Regions from separate parts of the Homo sapiens genome. Here region 1 is linked to region 2. Evidence: promoter capture Hi-C in human tissues and cell types (Jung and others, 2019). All regions are on one chromosome and are shown on one strand. The core of a region is centred on a gene start or on the middle of the fragment in contact, and the rest is flanking DNA. Distances in the headings are between cores, read along the strand shown. Region 1 overlaps DIAPH1 (diaphanous related formin 1). Region 2 holds the start of PCDHGA12 (protocadherin gamma subfamily A, 12).

The links. The method cuts DNA at HindIII sites, captures the fragments that hold promoters and counts their contacts. A contact is called where the count stands out against the background at its distance.
Region 1: a contact is called between a fragment that was not itself captured here and the fragment with the promoter of PCDHGA12 in region 2, in 1 of the 25 tissues and cell types used here (adrenal gland).

Annotation. Positions count from the first base shown.
Region 1 is chr5:141,571,525-141,576,102 of GRCh38, forward strand. It overlaps DIAPH1 (diaphanous related formin 1), which reads right to left. Exons shown (of 28, transcript NM_005219.5): 15 at 3,443-3,622; 16 at 1,968-2,684; 17 at 402-516. Among named protein-coding and RNA genes, the nearest start is that of DIAPH1-AS1, 16 kb to the left of the region's middle. The HindIII fragment of the contact is 3,111 bases long and covers 1,774-4,578 here.
Region 2 is chr5:141,429,257-141,434,473 of GRCh38, forward strand. PCDHGA12 (protocadherin gamma subfamily A, 12) reads left to right here and starts at 1,251. Exons shown (of 4, transcript NM_003735.3): 1 at 1,251-3,927. The coding sequence starts at 1,504. The region is part of intron 1 of PCDHGA1 (protocadherin gamma subfamily A, 1); the gene reads left to right. The region is part of intron 1 of PCDHGA2 (protocadherin gamma subfamily A, 2); the gene reads left to right. All of the region lies in intron 1 of PCDHGA3 (protocadherin gamma subfamily A, 3), which reads left to right. It also overlaps PCDHGB1, PCDHGA4, PCDHGB2, PCDHGA5, PCDHGB3 and PCDHGA6, and 10 more genes. RefSeq lists an enhancer at 1,147-1,286. The HindIII fragment of the contact is 7,635 bases long and covers 1-5,217 here.

The DNA.
Region 1 (4,578 bases), core at 2,079-4,578, 140 kb after region 2:
CTGTAGACAGTCACTCAGTCACCCAAACTGTTAAAGACTCTTTCCAACCCTTATTAATTATGTACTTAGAACTGGAAACTGCACCTTAAGGCAGTGCCAGAATCTGTTCAAAAGTATCAAAATGGGCCCAAATCAAGCTCTGTCACTTTAATCTCATATCCCTAACAAGTTATACTGATACAAAATACCTACATACAACAGTTCTCTTTCCCAAACCAAGTAACTCCATAATATTTAATACAAAAACATCTTTTCTTTCTTTTGAATGGGAAAATCCATCAGTCTTCCATCCAACATACCCTTTCTATCTTCACCCAGGGAAGGGAAGGGAATAGGAAACCTAATGAAAAAATATTCTAAGCCCTACACTGGACCTTTGCATCAAAGAGGAAGGTACTCACTCTTGGTCTGGGCAGAGAAGGTAAGGGTAAGTTTGGCGAAAAGTTCATTGTTCTCAAAGCGGTCCTCCTTCACCTTTGTCCAGAAGCAGTCCTGGGAGAGGTCCTCAGCCACAAGCTGTGGATAAAGGCAGGGTGTTAAGAATTAGTAAACTGAGCCCTGTACTTTCCGTCCTAGAAAACGGATGAGGCTGTAAAATAGGTGGCTGGCTGATTATCAGCAATGTCTTACTAGAATAAGACTAACTTGAGGCACAGAATAGCTGCAGTGGGATTAGGAGAGAATACTTCCAGTTCATCTGTTAATTGGTGATTATTCAAGAACTAGATTCATATATATACTACGTATCCTCCTCCTAACTCCAAATCCTCTAGCTTCATAACCATTAAGGCTTTATTTCAGAGAAGTCTTGCTCATCATTAAATTTCTCCCACCAGTTTGGCTAACTGTGCCAAATTTGCTCATTTTATGAGCAAATCCCTAAGGTCCTTTATATTAACTTGGTTTCTAGAAGAAAAAGGCTAACTCACTCAGAATCACAGGCATCTCAAACACATCATGGGAACAATACTGTGCATGCAAATATGGCCTATGTAGGCCAGGTGTGGTGGCTCACGTCTGTAATCCCAGCACTCTGGGAGGCCAAGGTGGGCGGATCACAAGGTCAGGAGTTCGAGAGCAGCCAGACCAACATGGTGAAACCCCATCTCTACTAAAAATACAAAAATTAGCCAGGCATGGTGGCACACGCCTGTAATCCTAGCTACTCAGGAGGCTGAGGTTGCAGTGAGCAGAGATTATGCCACTGCACTCCAGCCTGGGCAACAGAGCAAGACTCCAACTCAAAAAAAAAAAAAAAAATGGCCTGTGTAACTCACATCCTGCGGAATTGGGATAGGAGAGTGGATTCATAAATCCATGACTTTGGGATCAGCACAATTATCAGTAGTTTGCAGACTGGTGAATGACTATTATCAAACTGTGTGTTACCATGGTATTCACAGCCTCAGAGAAAAGGCAAAAAACATTAAGTTAAGATTAAATTCAGAATACAGGGTTCACAGAACTCTCCGTGGTGATGTATGGAATAAAGAAGATGCCTAATATCTCCTGAATAAACATAAGCATGAGTGAAGCTTAAAGATAGAAAGATGAAAGCCTTAAGGCGTAGCCCATCCATGCACAAAATACAAAGTAGAAAACTGAAACTGTTTCTTAAGATTGACTGGTGGGCCGGGCGCGGTGGCTCACGCCTGTAATCCCAGCACTTTGGGAGGCCGAGACGGGCGGATCACGAGGTCAGGAGATCGAGACCATCCTGGCTAACACGGTGAAATCCCGTCTCTACTAAAAATACAAAAATTAGCCGGGCGTGGTGGCGCGCGCCTATAGTCCCAGCTACACGGGAGGCTGAGGCAGGAGAATGGCGTGAACCCGGGAGGCGGAGCTTGCAGTGAGCCGAGATCGCACCACTGCACTCCAGCCTGGGCGACAGAGCGAAACTCCGTCTCAAAAAAAAAAAAAAAAAAAAAAGATTGACTGGTGAAGAAATAGACAGAAACTCTTACCTTGGACCAGTTTGGCCTCCGGAGCTGCACCTCTGGCTTATAAAGCTTTTTGGGGGTTAATCCAAATGGCAGAACTGGGGCTGCAGGAACTCCAAATCCAAATGGGGGAGGTGGAGGCATACCCATTCCGGGTGGAGGTGGAGGAATGCCAGGGCCTCCGGGAAATGGAGGAGGTGGAGGGATTCCAGGACCACCAGGAAGAGGGGGAGGAGGAGGTGGCATTCCTGCTTCTCCAGGCAAGGGAGGAGGTGGGGGGGGAATTCCAGCACTCCCAGGCAAAGGAGGTGGTGGTGGGGGGATTCTAGCACTCCCAGGCAAAGGAGGAGGTGGGGGGATGGCAGTACCTCCAGGCAAAGAAGAGGGTGAAGGGATGCCAACACCCTCAGGCAAAGGAGGGGGTGGAGGGATGGTAGCATCCCCAGACAAAGGAGGGGGTGGAGAGATAGCAGTACCTCCAGGTAAAGAAGGGGGTGAGGAGATGCAAACACCCCCAGGCAAAGGAGGTGGAGGAGGAGGAGGAGGAGGAGGAGGAGGAGGAGTGGTACTATCCCCAGGAGCAGGTGGTGGTGGAATAATAGTGCCAGAGTCACCAGGTAAAGGAGGGGCAGGGGGAACAGGAGCACGACTAGGAACAGAAGGAGGTACAGTAATAGCTGCCGCAGAGAGGGAAGCCATTTCTTTCTTGGCATCTTCCAGTTCCTTTGTCAGCTTGGCAACCTACAGAAATAACATCAATGTGAGTACTTCTCACCCCACTTCAGGGACTACTGGGACTGGAAGGAACCTAATAAACTACTTAATCCAAACTTCTCATGTTACAAATGGAGGAACTGAGAGGAGTCAGAGAGATGACATGATCACCTAAAGTCACACGGCTTGGCAGCAGAGCCAAAACTAGAATTCAGGTTTTCATGTTCTTAGTTCAGCATGCTTTGTATTAAGAAGACAATTTCAACCTTTATGTTAAACCCTCCCTTGATTAGAAAATGTAAAGGTCAAGTAAATTAAATGTTCTAGTTATATAACTAATATATGTGCTACACAGATGATTATATAACCACATAAGTAATCAAGTTATCAGACATCAAAGATCATTTAAGTATTTACTACTGCAGAGAGAGTGTGTAAGGATAAATCTGTGCAGAGGTGACTAAAATAACAGGAAATTAGTCAATTTTTAACAGTTTAGTTTTTATTCCTAATTTATTAGGAGACTTATTACTTTTATTTCTGGGTGGTAATGAAACTTACTTTATTCTTAATGTTTTTCTGTATTTTCCAGATTTTCTGTCTTATGTATTACTTACCCCCAACACAAACCAAAAACCAGTATATTATTTTTAAAATATGCACCATGTAACTAGATTACCTATTAGTAGCTGAACCCTCCCTAGGAGCGAGATGACTGACTCCTGTTCCAAGCCATGTGCATCCTGAGGTTACAGGTCATTCTGCCTTCCCTGCTCAGGCATTACCTCTCCTGTGAGCTGGGACACCTCTGCTTCCAGGTCCTGTTTCTCTGTGGCAATTTGCTGCTTTTCAGAATGCAGTGCATCTTTTTCTCCCTGAAGATCTTGAAGCTTCTGCTCAAAGTCACTTTCCATCTTTTTCATTTCCACCTGTAGCTCATGTCGGGCTGTTAACTCTGAGTCCAACTAGAGAAAAAACGAATCAGGCTCCCAGCAAGCTCTCCATCTCAGTAAGAAGCACAAGTATTATTACCCATAATTCTCCCTACCTCCTCTTTTGCCTGGGGGTGCTGGAATCCCCCCACTGCCTCCTGTTCTGGGCCAGTACTTGATTTACAGAGCTCATAAATCCAGGCCATGCTCGGGGGAAAAAAGCACCATGATTCTGACCTTAAAATCAAGGTTTGGCTGGGCGGAGTGGCTCACACCTGTAATCCCAGCACTTCGGGAGGCCGAGGCAGGTGGATCACCTGAGGTCAGAAGTTCGAGACCAACCTGTCCAACATGGTGAACCCTAGCCTCTACCAAAAATACAAAAATTAGCCGGGCATGGTGGTGGGCACCTGTAATCCCAGCTACTTGGGAGGCTGAGGCAGGAGAACTGCTTGAACCCAGGAGACAGAGGTTGCAGTGAGCCGAGATCGCGCCACTGCACTCCAGCCTGGATGACAGAGTGAGACTCCGTCTCAAAAAAAAAACAAATAAAAATAAAAATGAAAATAAAACAAGGTTAAAGGAGAGGGGAATCAGTTCATTTCCACAGATTCCCTATTTTTATAGTTAAAAAAAATAAGATTTTAAAGGTATTTAACGAGGACGACCATGGTAGTACAATCCCAATATTCTCTAGGATCAAAAACCTATTAACCACAATAAACGTTCTTAAAAACTGAAGAGAAAAAGAGAACTCAGACATCCTCTAGTTCTATTGCTCTAAGGACCCCAGTTCCTATTGTTCTAGGGGTAAGAGGCCTAAAATGCCAAGCAAACCTGAGAGTGCCATTACTATTACATGAGTATCATCTGTCTTTCTTTTCCTGCCCAGTAGCCCAAGAACTGAAAGTCCACCACTAGAGCTCCCTATGAAGACATCCATATCACTTTCTCCAATGACTACCCTATACTGGAAAGGTTTCCCCTGG
Region 2 (5,217 bases), core at 1-2,500:
GGAATAAATTTTTTTCCTGTGATGTTTCTTGGGACATCAATATTTGAGTATATAAGGCTTTTTCTTTAATCCATTAACTATAAATTTTGAAGAAAATGCATGAGAAAATGGAGAAAATGTGTTTTTTTTTTAAAAAAAATTGAGATTAAGGTCTCATTATGTTGCCCAGGCTGGACTCAAACTCTTGGGCTACAGTAATCCTCCCACCTCAATCTCCAGAGTAGCTGAGACTACAGTTGCCTGAAACTGTGCCTGGCAGAGAAAAAAGCTTAAAAAAATAAGAACATGGTAATGATTTGATAATATTCAGTTACATTTACTTTTGATTCTTGTAATTCAAGTAAACTCAATTTTATGTCTGATATTTTCTCACAGCTACCTATATATTTCTTCCCAATTTAAAATATATTATTTTATTTTATGCCTAGCAAATATCTTTACAGTATAAATATTTACGCTCATGAAAGTACGTAGCCAGTTATTTCTTAGGGAGAATTTTTTCCCTATATTTTGATGGGCTTCCAAAAGTATTACCAGTAATTCTCAGTAATTACAATTAGGTCAGTTACCCAGGAAAAGGTAAGTCTGTAACATTCTTTGGACTACCAATTTTCTTTTACTAAGTTTCCTGAACAATAAATATTTTTGAAATATAATGTATTAATAGAATTCTGGAGTACTTCCATTATTTCCAGTCAATGCAAGTTGGAATGCTTCTACTTTATGCTAAAAATATTAATGTTTCTTTTTCACTTGGGTTCTTGTTAAGTGTGATTCTGATAATGTATACAATCACATATCATTTTTAGGTTTCCATAATATCATGAAAATTTGATTTTTAAGCGTTACATGTCAACAACCTGGTAAAGTAATCCTTCCATTCAGGATCATTCAAGGAATCTATTTAAAAATATTTTCCCCAAATTATAGCTGAATCAGAAAGTTTAAATTATTATATTATATGATTTGTCAAAAAGAGAAACTCCTAGGGAGACATCTCCATAATAGGTGTGTTGGGGGAACAGTAATCTCAAAGCAGATGCACTAACATTATAAGATTAAAATCATTGTTTATAGAAACTTCCAATTCATTTAAAAGCTCATTGGGGAAAAAAAAGCTCATTGGGAAAAAAAAAAAAAGCTCACTAAAGTTTCTATTAAAGCGAATACGGTAGATTTCCATCCCCTTTTGAAGAACAGTAGGTGGAGCTATTTAAGATATAAAAACGAAATATCCTTTCTGGGAGTTCAAGATTGTGCAGTAATTGGTTAGGACTCTGAGCGCCGCTGTTCACCAATCGGGGAGAGAAAAGCGGAGATCCTGCTCGCCTTGCACGCGCCTGAAGCACAAAGCAGATAGCTAGGAATGAACCATCCCTGGGAGTATGTGGAAACAACGGAGGAGCTCTGACTTCCCAACTGTCCCATTCTATGGGCGAAGGAACTGCTCCTGACTTCAGTGGTTAAGGGCAGAATTGAAAATAATTCTGGAGGAAGATAAGAATGATTCCTGCGCGACTGCACCGGGACTACAAAGGGCTTGTCCTGCTGGGAATCCTCCTGGGGACTCTGTGGGAGACCGGATGCACCCAGATACGCTATTCAGTTCCGGAAGAGCTGGAGAAAGGCTCTAGGGTGGGCGACATCTCCAGGGACCTGGGGCTGGAGCCCCGGGAGCTCGCGGAGCGCGGAGTCCGCATCATCCCCAGAGGTAGGACGCAGCTTTTCGCCCTGAATCCGCGCAGCGGCAGCTTGGTCACGGCGGGCAGGATAGACCGGGAGGAGCTCTGTATGGGGGCCATCAAGTGTCAATTAAATCTAGACATTCTGATGGAGGATAAAGTGAAAATATATGGAGTAGAAGTAGAAGTAAGGGACATTAACGACAATGCGCCTTACTTTCGTGAAAGTGAATTAGAAATAAAAATTAGTGAAAATGCAGCCACTGAGATGCGGTTCCCTCTACCCCACGCCTGGGATCCGGATATCGGGAAGAACTCTCTGCAGAGCTACGAGCTCAGCCCGAACACTCACTTCTCCCTCATCGTGCAAAATGGAGCCGACGGTAGTAAGTACCCCGAATTGGTGCTGAAACGCGCCCTGGACCGCGAAGAAAAGGCTGCTCACCACCTGGTCCTTACGGCCTCCGACGGGGGCGACCCGGTGCGCACAGGCACCGCGCGCATCCGCGTGATGGTTCTGGATGCGAACGACAACGCACCAGCGTTTGCTCAGCCCGAGTACCGCGCGAGCGTTCCGGAGAATCTGGCCTTGGGCACGCAGCTGCTTGTAGTCAACGCTACCGACCCTGACGAAGGAGTCAATGCGGAAGTGAGGTATTCCTTCCGGTATGTGGACGACAAGGCGGCCCAAGTTTTCAAACTAGATTGTAATTCAGGGACAATATCAACAATAGGGGAGTTGGACCACGAGGAGTCAGGATTCTACCAGATGGAAGTGCAAGCAATGGATAATGCAGGATATTCTGCGCGAGCCAAAGTCCTGATCACTGTTCTGGACGTGAACGACAATGCCCCAGAAGTGGTCCTCACCTCTCTCGCCAGCTCGGTTCCCGAAAACTCTCCCAGAGGGACATTAATTGCCCTTTTAAATGTAAATGACCAAGATTCTGAGGAAAACGGACAGGTGATCTGTTTCATCCAAGGAAATCTGCCCTTTAAATTAGAAAAATCTTACGGAAATTACTATAGTTTAGTCACAGACATAGTCTTGGATAGGGAACAGGTTCCTAGCTACAACATCACAGTGACCGCCACTGACCGGGGAACCCCGCCCCTATCCACGGAAACTCATATCTCGCTGAACGTGGCAGACACCAACGACAACCCGCCGGTCTTCCCTCAGGCCTCCTATTCCGCTTATATCCCAGAGAACAATCCCAGAGGAGTTTCCCTCGTCTCTGTGACCGCCCACGACCCCGACTGTGAAGAGAACGCCCAGATCACTTATTCCCTGGCTGAGAACACCATCCAAGGGGCAAGCCTATCGTCCTACGTGTCCATCAACTCCGACACTGGGGTACTGTATGCGCTGAGCTCCTTCGACTACGAGCAGTTCCGAGACTTGCAAGTGAAAGTGATGGCGCGGGACAACGGGCACCCGCCCCTCAGCAGCAACGTGTCGTTGAGCCTGTTCGTGCTGGACCAGAACGACAATGCGCCCGAGATCCTGTACCCCGCCCTCCCCACGGACGGTTCCACTGGCGTGGAGCTGGCTCCCCGCTCCGCAGAGCCCGGCTACCTGGTGACCAAGGTGGTGGCGGTGGACAGAGACTCCGGCCAGAACGCCTGGCTGTCCTACCGTCTGCTCAAGGCCAGCGAGCCGGGACTCTTCTCGGTGGGTCTGCACACGGGCGAGGTGCGCACGGCGCGAGCCCTGCTGGACAGAGACGCGCTCAAGCAGAGCCTCGTAGTGGCCGTCCAGGACCACGGCCAGCCCCCTCTCTCCGCCACTGTCACGCTCACCGTGGCCGTGGCCGACAGCATCCCCCAAGTCCTGGCGGACCTCGGCAGCCTCGAGTCTCCAGCTAACTCTGAAACCTCAGACCTCACTCTGTACCTGGTGGTAGCGGTGGCCGCGGTCTCCTGCGTCTTCCTGGCCTTCGTCATCTTGCTGCTGGCGCTCAGGCTGCGGCGCTGGCACAAGTCACGCCTGCTGCAGGCTTCAGGAGGCGGCTTGACAGGAGCGCCGGCGTCGCACTTTGTGGGCGTGGACGGGGTGCAGGCTTTCCTGCAGACCTATTCCCACGAGGTTTCCCTCACCACGGACTCGCGGAAGAGTCACCTGATCTTCCCCCAGCCCAACTATGCAGACATGCTCGTCAGCCAGGAGAGCTTTGAAAAAAGCGAGCCCCTTTTGCTGTCAGGTGATTCGGTATTTTCTAAAGACAGTCATGGGTTAATTGAGGTGAGTTTATATCAAATCTTCTTTCTTTTTTTTTTTTAATTGCTCTGTCTCCCAAGCTGGAATGCAGCGGTACGATCATAGCTCACTGCAGCCTCAAACTCCTAGGCTCAAGCAATTATCCCACCTTTGCCTCCGGTGTAACAGGGACTACAGGTGCAAGCCACCTACTGTCTGCCTATCTATCTATCTATCTATCTATCTATCTATCTATCTATCTATCTATTACTTTCTTGTACAGACAGGAGTCTCACTATGTTGAGCAGGCTGATCTGAAACTTGGGCTCAGGCTAGCCTCCTGCTTCTCCCTCCCAAACTGCTGGGATTACAGGCGTGAACCACAGTGCCCCGCCCTTATCAGATATTCTTTTCTGGCTGGGCGCGGTGGCTCACGCCTGTAATCCCAGTACTTTGGGAGGCCGAGGCGGGTGGATCACCTGAGGTTGGGAGTTTGAGACCAGCCTGACCAACATGGAGAAACCCCGTCTATACTAAAAAAATACAAAATTAGCCGGGCGTGGTGGTGCATGTCTGTAATCCCAGCTACTTGGGAGGCTGAGTCAGGAGAATTGCTTTAACCTGGGAGGTGGAGGTTGCAATGAGCTGAGATTGTGCCATTGCACTCCAGCCTGGGCAACAAGAGTGAAACTCTATCTCAAAAAAAAAAAAAAAAAACTTTATCCTCTAGTTTCATCCATTGATGACACTTGCTTTAATCACTTATTACAATCACCTCCAAATGAAGATTTTATAATTCCATTGTTTCTTCTACAGTTGTTAATTGGCTTTCTACCTTGAAGAAGAGTTTTATATTCTCTATATATGTTTGTTTCTATGATTCTGGAAGCATGGTTTTCTATTTTATTCAATGGCCTGTAATCTGTTAATATCAATTATTTATTTTGATGCTGAAATTGTCCCAGGATTGGCCTTTGGGACTCCCTTTAGGCTGATTTCTATGTCCTTTCTGTTACAGCAAGCTTGGGATTATATCCAAGATTTGTAATTCCAATGTACTTACTTCTGTCAGTGTAAACAAAGTACGATTTCTGGACTAGATGACTTGGGCATTGTGGGGGAGGTGGAAATTAGAGGTATTCTCTGTTTTTCCTGTAGGATCTTGCATTTCTTCCTCTTGCTGCTTGTCTCTTTGTGTCGGGAACAGGCCCCCCAAAATCTGGCCATAAACTGGCCCCAAAACTGGCCATAAACAAAATCTCTGCAGCACTGTGACATGTTCATGATGGCCGTAATGCCCATGCTGGAAGGTAGTGGGTTTACCGGAATGAGGGC